2 separate regions of the Homo sapiens genome follow, and region 2 is linked to region 1. The links are contacts of gene promoters, found by promoter capture Hi-C in blood cells and fetal thymus (Javierre and others, 2016). All regions are on one chromosome and are shown on one strand. The core of a region is centred on a gene start or on the middle of the fragment in contact, and the rest is flanking DNA. Distances in the headings are between cores, read along the strand shown. Region 1 holds the start of GNAI3 (G protein subunit alpha i3). Region 2 has its middle 8.6 kb from the start of GSTM4.

What was found. The method cuts DNA at HindIII sites, captures the fragments that hold promoters and counts their contacts. A CHiCAGO score of 5 or more calls a contact.
Region 2: a fragment that was not itself captured here is called in contact with the fragment with the promoter of GNAI3 in region 1 in 17 of 17 cell types (M2 macrophages, M1 macrophages, megakaryocytes and 14 more); the score reaches 42.7 in M2 macrophages.

Annotation. Positions count from the first base shown.
Region 1 is chr1:109,546,571-109,553,671 of GRCh38, forward strand. GNAI3 (G protein subunit alpha i3) reads left to right here and starts at 2,045. Exons shown (of 9, transcript NM_006496.4): 1 at 2,045-2,268. The coding sequence starts at 2,151. It overlaps GPR61 (G protein-coupled receptor 61), which reads left to right. Exons shown (of 2, transcript NM_001393907.1): 2 at 1-690. RefSeq lists a silencer at 1-57 and enhancers at 1,572-1,631, 2,162-2,331. The HindIII fragment of the contact is 6,158 bases long and covers 1-5,684 here.
Region 2 is chr1:109,644,371-109,650,627 of GRCh38, forward strand. No RefSeq gene overlaps it. Among named protein-coding and RNA genes, the nearest start is that of GSTM4, 8.6 kb to the right of the region's middle. RefSeq lists an enhancer at 1-559. The HindIII fragment of the contact is 1,041 bases long and covers 4,488-5,528 here.

The sequences.
Region 1 (7,101 bases), core at 795-3,294:
GCCCTCCAGCCCTTCCTTCACATACATCAAAGAAGAAAGTTTTAAGAGCAAGGGTATCTTTAATTCAGGCTGAAATTTCCTGACACTGTGATCTCACTGGTGTTTATTACAGAGTTTGACATACATGGGTTCATTTGCCATTTATTTTTCCCTGTAGGAGTGGATCATGAAGGAAATAAAAATTTCTCTTTTATTATGCTGAGAACTTTCCCAACAATTTCTGCTATGACCACCTTCCAGGAGTTTTCTAGTCACCAGATGCCTTGGTAAAGTTCAATACGTAATCTTTGGCTCTGAAAGCTGTTCCTGGACAAAATCTGAGCTAACTCACTGAAGAATCAACAGATTGAGGCAACCATCCGGTCAGTTACTTTTTCCTGCATCCTGCTGGTGTTGGGGTAACTCCCAATCCTAGATGAAAACCTTAGACTTTCTGTTGTCAGGTGTCCCCAGGCAATATCCTACGGGGGCATGATAGAAAAGGGTAACTCTGGGGTCAGATAGATGTACTTACTCACTGTGTGAAGTTGGGAAAGCTGCTTAATTTCTCTGAGCCTACTTCCTCACCTGTAAAAATGGGGATCATTATTACCTACCTCACAGGGTTGTTGTGAGGATTAAGAGATGGGATGTGGGAGCACCTAGCCGTATCTGGCAAATAGGTACTCAATAAATACTGGTTTTACTTCCCTTTCCTCTTGCCCTTTTTCCCCAAAAGTATTGATAATGGAAAAGCAGTCCCTTTCATTCTTAACAGTCATTTGGGAATGACTGGGGGACTTTTCAAACCTTGAAGAATTGGCATTGCTAAGAGTTAAGGTGGACGAGGCTTTTTAAGGTGGCTCTAATCCTCTAATTAAATCCTTCTAATTAATGAATCATCACTATATAAACCTCTCTGTTGGGACCTTACTTTCTCAAGTTCAGATTCTATTAGAGAAATAAATTTACAATCACAGGGAAAGGTTTTAGGGACTGAGTTCCCTTCGCTAGAACGTATAGTAATTGTGGGCTTATTTGCCTGAAAAGTTGATTTAGGACTACCTTCACGCAGTATCCAGGGTTATTAGTGAAAGATGCTATCTGCCTGGGACTTTCACAGTGGACTTAAGTTTCAGGTGATACTAGGGCTGAGAGGCAAATTTTACTAGAACCTCTCCTTTTGCATGTTATCGCAACAGGAAATTTTAGTAGGAGATTCACAGGATGCACTGGTTTGTTTCGGGGTGTGGAATTGAAGTTGACTTATCTTGGTTTTAGTTCTAAGACCCTAAGGTAGGAAGATCTGAATTATACTGGAGAGAAGGGCAGCATGGAAATTTTATGGAGGAACTACAGGCTTACCTTTCAGGTTATCGAGTATCTGCTAGCGATTTCAAGTGGCCTTTTGCCAATATAGGAGTTAAGCAAATCTCAAGCCCACAGAAATACGTGAATAGCAAAAGGACCAGGGGACATTTTGAGAGGAGTCAGTGGGCCAGAGACGGCAAAAAGTTATTGCTGAGGTCCTAAGCACAGTCGGTGTTACGATCTCAGATGTGAGACGTGAACGGCGCCCAGGCCGGATAGCTTGTTCCCATTCCATTGATCTGAGATAACCCCAACGGAGGCAGTGTCCCATACTTGGGTAGGGGTCCCGAGTCTCCACAGCCAGAGATCAAAGGAGTTTTCTGGCAGGCGAGAAATTACCAGCAGATATTCCCGCGCGGGATGTAGGCTTTAATTTAGAAATCTCCGCCCCAAAACTGGCATCTTGAACGCGGGAGGGCATTATGAGTTAGAGGCCCCGGTTTTTCTCCATTTATCCAAATCAGGTAGCCGAAAGGTAAATGAGGCTTCAAGTTGGGCGGCGGGCAGCGAACTTGACAGAACCTCGAAACTCTGCAGATCCGCCGCCCAACCCAGCCGCCAGCTCCCCGTGACTTCCGCTTTCGGTCTCAACTCCTCTCCCTGAGGAGAGTGGTTTAAACGGTGAAGGCTGCGGGGCGTCGCCGGAAGTGTCGTAAACGTCGGATATCCGGTTCTTCTGGGCGCTAAGGGAGCTGACGGAGAGGGCCACCGCCCAGCAATAGACGGTGCCTCAGCCTGCCGAGCCGCAGTTTCCGTGGTGTGAGTGAGTCCGGGCCCGTGTCCCCTCTCCCGCCGCCGCCATGGGCTGCACGTTGAGCGCCGAAGACAAGGCGGCAGTGGAGCGAAGCAAGATGATCGACCGCAACTTACGGGAGGACGGGGAAAAAGCGGCCAAAGAAGTGAAGCTGCTGCTACTCGGTGAGGGGCTGGAGGCGGGGACTGAGTGGTGGTCGGGAGAGCCTAGGCGCTTGGAAGGCCTGAACGGGGTCTGGTCGGGCCGACGGAAAGGACCCTAAAGGGATCTGGAGGGCGTGCCGGGCGTGGGGCGGGGTGTTGGGGTTCCTAGCTGAGGCCCCAGAGGGCGTGATGAGGGGGGTGGGGTTTTGGGGTTGCGGGAATTAGGCTGTAGAGGGTGTGACTCCGGGCTAGAATTGCGTTTAGCAGAGAGACTTGGGAGTATGGGCCGGTAGATGTTGAGGGAGTAGGAATATGGGAAAAGCTCATAAAGGAAGAGTTGATACTAGGAAGGTTTTACGTTGGGTTGGAGCGTGTTGGTAACGAGAACGGCATAGAGTATATGTTGGGCTTGTATAATGGTTTGTGAGTTTGGAGCGTCGTGGTTCTTTGGCAGGATAAAGCTAGCAGGCTTGAATGGATGGTACAGAGACTGGAACAGAATGGTCACATAAGGACGTTGACATTTGTTAGTAAGAGAGCCATTTGAACTGTTGGAAGAACCCTGGATTATCCAGGAACATGAAGATAGGTAGGTGAGATAAATGACAAGTTATCAGGTATAAAGGAAAAGAGCTTGGGTGCAGAGGCCATCTCTACTTTTCCACCGTTTCCTATCATTTTTATTTTCAAAGTTTTATAACGTCTTCTTCTGTTTTTACAAAAGGATGGGAAATGGTGTGAGCTGAAGAAATTTAAAGAATGATTTCTTTGAGGTTTGTAGCAGAAGATCTAGTGAACAAGAGATTACACATTGGAGGATGCTGAATAGTTGCTATAGATGATGTGTAGTTGGAATAGTTACCTTAGGATAAGTTACAGAGTTGGACATATTCACTGTAAAGACTATGGTAGACTTCTGGTGGCTGTTTTATCCTTTTTGGCCTCTTCAAAGCAAAACCATTGACTTCAGGAATTACTGTTTATGTTATTTGATAGTCGTTTTAATTGGCTTTTTTTAAACACAGTCGGATGTATTTTACTCAACATGAGTTTCAAAATTTTTGAGAGGCTCAGTAAATCATACAAAGAATACTGGCATTAGCTTACTAATAAATCAAGCCACATTTCTTCATTATTAGTGAAGATTTTCTAGGGTAGTATTTCCATTATTTTCCAATATTTTCTAGGGTAGTATTTCCATTAGAGAAGAATAAGTAGGAGTAGGGGTTTCTACAGAAACCCTTACAAGCAATAGAAATTTACTTTTTAAAACAATTGATTTTTGAGGAAAAGGAGTCACTTTAGGGGAAATGCTAAATTTTCATGGTATAAAGCTCCAGAGAACAGAATGTACACTGTAACCCAAGACTTATTTTGTACATTCTAAGTGCCCCTGTTAGTCTCTTCGTGTGAACATATTTGGTTGGTTGTAGATTGCAGAAGCTCTGGTAATAGCTTTTTTGAATATACTATAAAGGGAAAGTTATGTATTGGAGCTTAAGGTTCCGGTTTGTATACCTGAACTTTCAGAAGATGCGAGTTCAAATTGTAGTTCTAGACTGCGACTGTCTGTATAACAGGTGGATATGCATGGTCCCTGGTACCTAGTAGGTGCTCCTTAAATATTTACTGTTAACCAGCCTGAGCCAGCAAATGTTGAACACTGGTCCTTGGGGCCTTTGAGAAATTTGATATAAACTATAACATTCAGGGCGTTAACTTTTTTTTTTTTTTGAGACGGAGTCTCCCTCTGTTGCCTAGGCTGGAGTGCAGTGGCGCGATCTCGTCTCACTGCAACCTCCACCTCTCGGGTTCACGCCATTCTCCTGCCTCAGCCTCCCAAGTAGCTGGGACTACAGGCGCCCGCCACCACGCCTGGCTAATTTTTTGTATTTTTAGTAGAGACGGGGTTTCACCGTGTTAGCCAGGATGGTCTCAATCTCCTGACCTTGTGATCCACCCGCCTTGGCCTCCCAAAGTGCTGGGATTATAGGCGTGAGGCCACCGTGCCTGGCCAGCATTTTCTTTATTGATCGATTGGTTATGAAAGTAAAGATGTATTCTCATCTTCTGTGAGTGATTTGATTTACACTGACCAACAGAGATACCCTTAGGACATCAGTTTATTGTAATGTAGTTGGAAACTTTGAGACTTTCTTCCAAAATGCAGGATTAGGCAGGCAGAATTTGGATAGGCGGAACTTGTCCAGATGTCTAGAAGAATTTTTGTTCAGGATTTTATCTGTAGTGCATTTAATTAAAAACAAAATTAGACACTTGACTTAGGGAACTTGAAAAGCAGTAAGTAAAAATCAAAGTACTAAACATATTTGCTTTTAATTTTTACCAACTTCATTCTTTTTTAAGTAAGATTTTTAAAATATTCTTGAGCAAGTTAAATCCACAAATTCAAATAGGTTGCAGAAACATATGTTCTTGCTTGAGCCATATCATAACACACATAGGAAATTAAAATTATCTTCTATGCTATTTCTATAAGCAAAATGTACCCAAAACAGTATACAGTTTTCTTTTTCCTGGATAATGTCTCCTTTGCTGTAGATGCAAGTCATTTTTACTTTATCACTATGGAACTTAGTTTAAGTTGAGATCTATCTACTTACCCTGTGTCTCCTGACACATGATATATTTTCTTTCTTATGGGGGTGTAGTTTAACATGGTGATTAATAGCATGGGTCCTGAAGTCAGACTGCTTTAAATCCTAATTCCCATTTACTAGTTATAGCCTTGGGAAAGTTAATTTCTCTTGGCCTCAGTTTTCTTATCTTTAAAATGGAGAAAATAGAGCTACTCCTAGGATTGCTGTGAGGATTAAATATGGTAATAATGTAAAGCAGAACACAGCTTGGCACATAGTACTAGCTCCATGAAGATTAGCTATTCTTATTAAGTCAAAATGAATGTTACAGATTGTAGGTATTATGGAAATTATACCAAATTAAGCAGCTAGTGTGGGCCAGATTATTTACAGACACTTCAGTATTGTAATTCTTCCTTTGATAACCTTTGGTTTGAATTTCATTTAGATGTTCTTGGAAAGGGCTGGGCGTGGTGGCTCCTGGCTGTAATCCCATCACTTTGGGAGGCCGAGGCTGGTGGATCACCTGAGGTCAGGAGTTCGAGACCAGCCTGGCCAACATGGCGAAACCCCATCTCTACTAAAAGTACAAAAATTAGCCGGGCGTGGTGGTGTGCACCTGTAGTCCCAGCTACTTGGGAGGCTGAGGCAGGAGAATCGCTTGAACCCGGGAGGTGGAGGTTGCAGTGAGCAGAGATGACGCCACTGCACTCTAGCCTGGGTGACAAAGTGAGACTCTTTGTCTCAAAAAAAAAAAAAATAAAGTGTTCTTGGGAAGATCTTGGTATATCAAATTAGTGTTTAATTATGACATTCTATTGAAAAAATACCATGCAAAGCTTCCCAACCAATGTTCCAGTGCTTAGGATGGCATATAGGTGTGCTGTTTACAAATTTTTTATAGCATTGAAATTTTAAATCATTTTTATAAGTTCAAACTTTTACAACAGTTGAAATTACATTTGAACATCTTTGGTATGATTTCCTCTTGTATAATTCATGAATTTGGTAATTTGGTTATTTACTATTTAAACAATTAGAGATGGGGGTCTCATTATGTTGCCCAGGCTGGTCTCAAATGCTTGGCCTCATGTGATTCTCCCATCTCAGCCTCCCAAAGTGCTGGGATTACCAGTGTGAGCCACTGTGCCTACCCTACCATGAATTTGGTAATTTGAAAAAATTTTATTTGGTATAAATACTAAATTTATACCAATTTAATATTTAATATCATTTGTAATACTTTGTATTTTTTTCATGCCATAATTTCATAATAAGAAATTTTGTGTGTGCGGGTTTTGTTTTTGTTTTTTTTTGACCCCAGGGCAAGCAAGAAAATTTTTTTTCACCAAGCTCTTTCAGCTCACCCCAATGAGCCTTACAAATATTTTTAATGTGTGCCATCATGTGACAAAGGTTGGGAAGCACTGGTATAATGGATAAGAGCACTGCTTTTGGATTCACACAAAACTGAATTTAAGTTCTACCTCCACTTATTAGCTCTGAGACCCAGAGCAAGTAACTTAACCATAAGAATAATAATTTTTACATATGTAAAGCAGAGATGATGTTTCATAATATGAAATGAGATAATGCATGTAAAATGCTTCACATTAGTGCCTAGCAAATAAAAAATAGTAAGTGGTCACTTCTATTGATGATGATGATCGTGAGAATTACCATTTTAGCTACTTTTTTCAGAGGTTTTTCAGACAGCTGTTTTATTATTTTTCATATTAATATACTATTTTCAAAGATCTTCAAAGAATTTTAATATCCTTTTGTGGTGAAAGGAATTAAATGTTAGTCCTTTTTTTTTACTCATCACTGTACTAATGAAGATACTTAGTTTTGTAAATTATTGAATTATCTGCTCTCTGTATTTCTGTTTCTTGATAGTTTCCTTTAGCAGGTTCTGAGAAAACATAAAAAAAAACTTTGTTCTTTGGGATTTGCTGGTGGTAGTATGGCAAAAAGCCAGTTGCATGCAGAGAACTGGAATCATCTAATTTACTTAAACTCTATATTATACAGTTAATTATATTTAAATTGCTGCATATTATTGGCTGAATATGCTTATTATTGAGAATAAGACTGCCCTTTGGTAAACATGCCATTACATTATATCCTCCTATGGGATTATACCCTTTATTATGTTTGCCATTTGCTTGGGATAAGGTTCATGGCCAGTTACATTTCATGTGAGGATGCATCTGTGTTTCGGGGAAAAAAAGCTTTGTGTTTTATAAGCATG
Region 2 (6,257 bases), core at 3,758-6,257, 100 kb after region 1:
GGATCACTGCAAGCTCCGCCTCCCGGGTTCACGCCATTCTCCTGCCTCAGCCTCCCGAGTAGCTGGGACTACAGGCGCCCGCCACCACGCCCAGCTAATTTTTTGTATTTTTAGAGACGGGGTTTCACCGTGTTAGCCAGGATGGTCTCGATCTCCTGACCTCGTGATCCACCCGCCTCGGCCTCCCAAAGTGCTGGAATTACAGGCGTGAGCCACTGCGCCTGGCCTCTTTGTGCACTTTCTTTGTATTTAGGGAAACAGCAACAGTAAACCCCAAATGACAAAGGTCATTACAGGGACCTTTTTTGCAGCCAATGATGTTTGTGTTCCCCGGTGCACTGCTCTGAAGCTTTCCCACGCATTCGGGCTCAGGTCTCTCTCCGGCATGTCTGCTGCCTTGTTTACTCCCCGCTTAGCGTGTGTTTATAGGATCACATTACACGAAATATTCCAGCCTTGTGAAGTAGCATTTCTTGCTGATAATGAAAACAAAAGACACAAAGAATTCTAAGAAATGCCTACAGTGCTTGGCACGTGAGGGCCTCTTGGCCTAGGGCCAAGTTTGTCTACTATCAGCCCCCACGGTGTCTGGAAAGTCTTGGATTGTTGTTGGCTCTTTGGATCCTGTGGTTTCACCCTGCAGCGTTTTGTAGGCAGTGTGGTGTCCTGGGTAGACCCAGGTCTTGGGGTTGACTGGACTGGTCAGATACAACTTGGTGACTTGCTAGCTGTGTGTCCTTGGGCAAGTTACTTAATTTTCCTGAGCCTCAGTTTTCTCATCCATAAAATGAGGGAAGAAAGAAATAATTCAAAGAGATGTTTTGAGAATTTGGTGAGGAGGTATATATAGTAGACAAGTCATAGACACTCAGTAAGTATTGGCTGGGATTATTAGCAAAAGCAAATAAGCCCCTTCTTTAAAGGGAACATAGCTTTTTTCTAAACCCCACTGTCATACTTAAATTGGTGATCAAGAAGTTATGTTTCTCAAGACACCCAGGAGCAGAGGCCAGGGAGAAGGATGTTCCAGGGCACAGGGGAGACCTGGACTGCCACGTGCACTTAGGGATGACCTGCACCTTCAGACGAACAGCAGGAAAAAAGACTCTTTTCCACTTCTCCTGGTTTGAGGTGGAGTTGGGCCCCCTGTCTGAGTAGGGTGAGGTGGCTGGCAGAGAGCTGGATGCCCCTTCCAATAGCTGGCCAAAGGTAGCAGAGGCAGGATTGTTCTCAAAGGAATTAGGTAAAAGCCCCGCAGCCAAGTGTGAGATCAAATCTCAGAAAATATCAGTACTGGGCTGGGCATGGTGGCACCGTGGCCAGTCTTAGCTGGACAGTTTTAAACTTTCTTTTCTCGGGGCTTTTTTTTTTTTTTTTTTTTTGAGAAAACAAGAAGATTGGTTACTCTAATTAAATATAATAATGAGAGTAGATGGTTAATTGTACTGGATACACTAATGCAGAGAGATACAGGTATGTGTACAGAATAAGGTATGATTTTCTGTTTATTTAGAAAAGTTACTACAGTTTATTCAAAATACATTTAATATACACATATTTTATTCAATTATATTTTAAGGCTATAGTTAAAAGCTTTAAAGTAATTTTTGCTATTGAGTTGTGGGAGTTCTATATGTATTTTGGATGTTAGCTAACCTCTTCTCAGATATGTGGTTTGCAAATATTTTCTCCAATTCCATAGACTGCCTTTTCACTGTTGTTTCTTTTGCTGTGCAGAAGGTTTTTAGTTTGATGTGGTTCCATTCGTCTATTTTTGCTTTTGTTGCCTGTGCTTTTGATATATAAAAGAAATCATCGCTTAGACCAATGTCATGAAGACTTTCTCCTATGTTTTCTTCTAGGAGTCTTATAGGTTTAGGTGTTATATTTAAATCTTTAATCCATTGTGAGCTCATTTTTGAGTGTGGTGTAAGACAGGGGTCCAATTTTATTCTTTTGTATGTCCATATTCAGTTTTCCCAAAACCATTTGTTAAAGAGGCCATCGTTTGTCCATTGTGTATTCTTGGCACCCTGTTGAAGATCAGTTGATTATATACACTTAGGTTATTTCTGGGCTGTCTGTTCTGTTCCATTGGTCCTTGTGTCTGTTTATATGACAGTACCATACTGTTTTAATTACTATAGCTTTGTAATATATTTTGGAATCAGGAAGTTGATGCCTCCAGCTTTGTTCTTCTTTCTCAAGATTGTGTTGGTTATTTGGGATCTTTTGTGGTTCCATATGAATTTTAGGATTATTTTTTCCTATTTCTGTAAAAAAATGCCATTAGAGGCTGGGTGTGGTGGCTCATGCCTGTCATCCCAGCACTTTGGGAAGCCAAGATGGGTGGATCACCTGAGGTCAGGAGTTCGAGACCAGCCTGGCCAACATGGTAAAACCCCGTCTCTACTAAAAATATAAAAATTAGGCAGGCATGGTGGCGGGTGCCTGTAATCCCAGCTACTCGGGAGGCTGAGGCAGGAGAACTGCTTGAACCCAGGAGGCAGAGGTTGCAGTGAGCTGAGATCGCACCACTGCACTCCAGCCTGGGCAAGAGAGTGAGACTTTGTCTCAAAAAAAAAAAAAAAATGCCATTAGATTTTGATAGGGATTACATTGAATCTGTAGATCAAAGTAGCGTGAACATTTAAACATTATTAGATCTTTCAATCTATAAACATGGGATGTTTTTCCATTTACTTGTGTCTTCTTTGATTTCTTTCATCAATATTATGTAGTTTTCTTTGATTTCTTTCATCAGTGTTACATACAAGTCTTTCATCTCCTTGGTTGAGTTTATTCCTAAGTATTTTATTCTTCTTGGTGCTATTGCAAATGGGATTGTTTTTTGTAATTTTCTTTTGGATACTTTGTTGTTAGTGTACCAAAACATAACTAACTTTTGTATGTTGATCTTGTATCCTGCAACTTTATGGAATTTGTTTATTCATTCTAAGTTTTTTTTTGTGTGTGGAGTCTTTAGGGTTTTCTACATATAAGATTATGTCATCTGCAAACAGAGATAGTGTTACTTAATCGTTTCCAATTTGTATGACTTTTAAATTTCTTTTCCTTGCCTAATTGCTCCGTTAGGACTTCCAGTACTATGTTGACTAGAAGTGGCAAGAGCGGGTATTCTTTGCCTTGTTCCTGATCTTACAGACAAAGCTTTCAGTTTTTCATTGTTGAGTATAATGTTAGCTGTGAGCTTGTCATATATGGTCTTTATTTTGTCAAGGAAAATTCCTTTTATACCTAGTTTGTTGAGAGTTTTTACTATGAAAAGATGTTGAATTTTGTCAAATGCTTTTTCTGCATCTATTGAGATGATCATTTGATGTTTATCCTTCATTTTGTTAACGTGGTGTGTCACATTAATTGTTTTACATATGATGAGCCATCCTTGCAAAGGACTTGAATAGACATTTCTCAAAAGAAAGCATACAAATGGCCAACAGGTATATGAAAAGATGCTCAACATCACTAATCATAAGAGAAATGCAAATCAAAACCACAATGAAATATCACTTCACACCTGTTAGAGTGGCTATTGTCAAAAAAAAAAAAAAAAAAAAAAAAAAAAAAGGTAAAGAAAGTGAGACAAGCTCCCAACTGGTAACAAGTGCTGTTGAGGAGAAATTGGAACTTTTGTACACGGTTGGTGGGAAAGTAAAATTGTGCAGCCACTGTGGAAAACAATATAGAGGTTCATAAAAGAATGAAAAATAGAACTACCAAATGATCCAGCAATCCCACTTCTGGGTATATATTCAAAAGAACTGAAGGATCCCAAAGAGATATTAGCAGTCCTTTGTTCATTGTAGCATTATTCACAATATCCAAGACATGAAAATGACCTAACTATTCATCAACAGATGAATGAATAAAGAAAATTTGGTATGTACATTCAGTGAAATATTAATCAGTCTTAAAAAGAAGGAAATTCTGCAATATATAACACTATGGATGAACCTGGAGGACATTATGCTAAGTGAAATTAGCTCGTCACAGAAGAACAAATACTGCATGATTCCACTGACATGGGGTATCCAAAATAGGCCAACTCATAGAAACAAAGTAGAATGACGGTTTTCAGGGGATCGGGAGAGGAGGAAATTAAAACCAATCCAACTGTCCAGAGACAGTTTTTGTTTTGTTTTGTTTTGTTTTGTTTTGAGACGGAGTCTCGCTCTGTCGCTCACGCTGGAGTGCAGTGGCGCGATCTCGGCTCACTGCAAGCTCCGCCTCCCGGGTTCACGCCATTCTCCTGCCCCAGCCTCCCAAGTAGCTGGGACTACAGGCGCCCGCCACCACGCCCGGCTAATTTTTCGTGCTTTTAGTAGAGACGGGGTTTCACCGTGTTAGCCAGGATGGTCTCGATCTCCTGATCTCGTGATCCGCCCGCCTCGGCCTCCCAAAGTGCTGGGATTACAGGCGTGAGCCACCGCGCCTGGACATAGACAGTTTTTAAAAAATAAACTTAAAGCTTGAAACTCACCAGATCCAGACAATTAAATACCAGGCCTCTCAGAAGGTATCAAAGAACGGAAACTCACCAGATCATCACATCCAGACAATGAGATGCCAGGCCCCTCATTCATCATGATTGCTTCCTTAGCCCTTCAGAATTCCTGTTTTCCCATACATTGTTACATTTTTTTCTCTGCTATATAAACCCCTAATTTTAGCCAGTCAGGGAGATGGATTTGAGACTGATCTCTCATCTCCCCTACTGCAGCACTCTATTAAAGCCTTCTTCCTTGGCAGTAATCATCTCAGCCGTTGGCTATCTGTGCAGCAAACAGCAGGACTCAGACTGAATCCCTGGTGTTTCGGTAACAAAATGGAGAGTTGCTATTCAAGAGGTATAAAGTTTCAGTTATACAAGATAAACATATTCTAGATATCTGCTATACAACACCGTGCTCATAGTTAACAATACTGTGTACCTGTTTACTTAAAAATTTGTTAAGAGAGTATGCGGCAGGAGAATAGGGTCTGGAGGCAGGGAACCTAAGGCTGATTCACACTGAATTTCTAGAGCTAAATCGAAAGGAAAATCCCAACTTTCCATGCCTAAGTAACAAAAGGACCAGAAGCTACTCCCTTTGCAAACCCCCTGCTTTTCTGCTCTGCAGATGGAAAATGGACAGTTCCTCTGATTGGTTGCTTTCTGCAGCCAATCAGATATTTGCATAGAAGTGTAACTTTGTAACTTCACTTCAGCCTCTGATTGTGGACCACTATTCATTTGCATGGGGTGAACACCAAGTGGCCAATGGCAAACTTCTAGGAGGTATTTGGACCCCAAAAGATTCTGAATCCGGGCTCTTGAGCCCCTATGCTTGGCCTGCTCCCACCCTGTGGAGTGTACTTTCATTTTCAATAAATGAAAATTTGTTTGCTCCTTGTTTTGTTTGTGCGTTCTGTCCAGTTCTTTGTTCAAAATGCGAAGAACCTGAACGCCCTCCACTGGTAACAAGCAGATCTCATTTTAAGTGTTTTTATTACAACTTAAAAAAGAAAGCTTTAATTTGTTACCTATTTGTATATTTATATATCTGTGTATGCCTAAATGCATACAAATAAAGGAATATTAATAGAGCCTTTATTATAATCTATTAGAAAATTATGTACCAAAGGAGTAAAATTAGGATTTGGCTCTGTCATGTAAAATGACTCAGTTGTTTTGCACCCAGATTACTAGAGGTTATTTTTTTTCACCAAATTATTCTGTTAACTCTCAGTGTTTTTCACATGCTCTTAAAACATCTTGTTAGAAATTCCCTTGGATAGCCCTGACCTGATTTTATTTGTTCATATTTTAAAATGCTATCACAGACCTAAATTCACCCTTAAAGTAGAGACCACTCCAGAAATTAAATCAGCTCCAATGACTGAAATAATTGCCTGCATCTGGGTCTGCTGGCTGCTAAAGTGTAAAAGAGTAAGCATATACACTAATGGCAGATGCACTTTTGGGGAGTCTGTGAATTGGGAATGCTTTGGAAATGAAGAGTTTTCTAACCTCCACAAAAATCTGCAAAAATTGGATGACGGATTAAAAATAAAACTTTCAGCTGCTTTGCTGTTACCTGAGGAAATAGCTGTAATAAAAGTAGACCACCATTCAATGCACAAAGACCCAGAATTTCTAGTAATACTTTAGCTGGCCACCATGCTAACCCCAGTAGCGTCACCAAGATCAATGCTCCTGCAAATCACACAGAAAAGAGGGGTCTTGGAGGATTCAA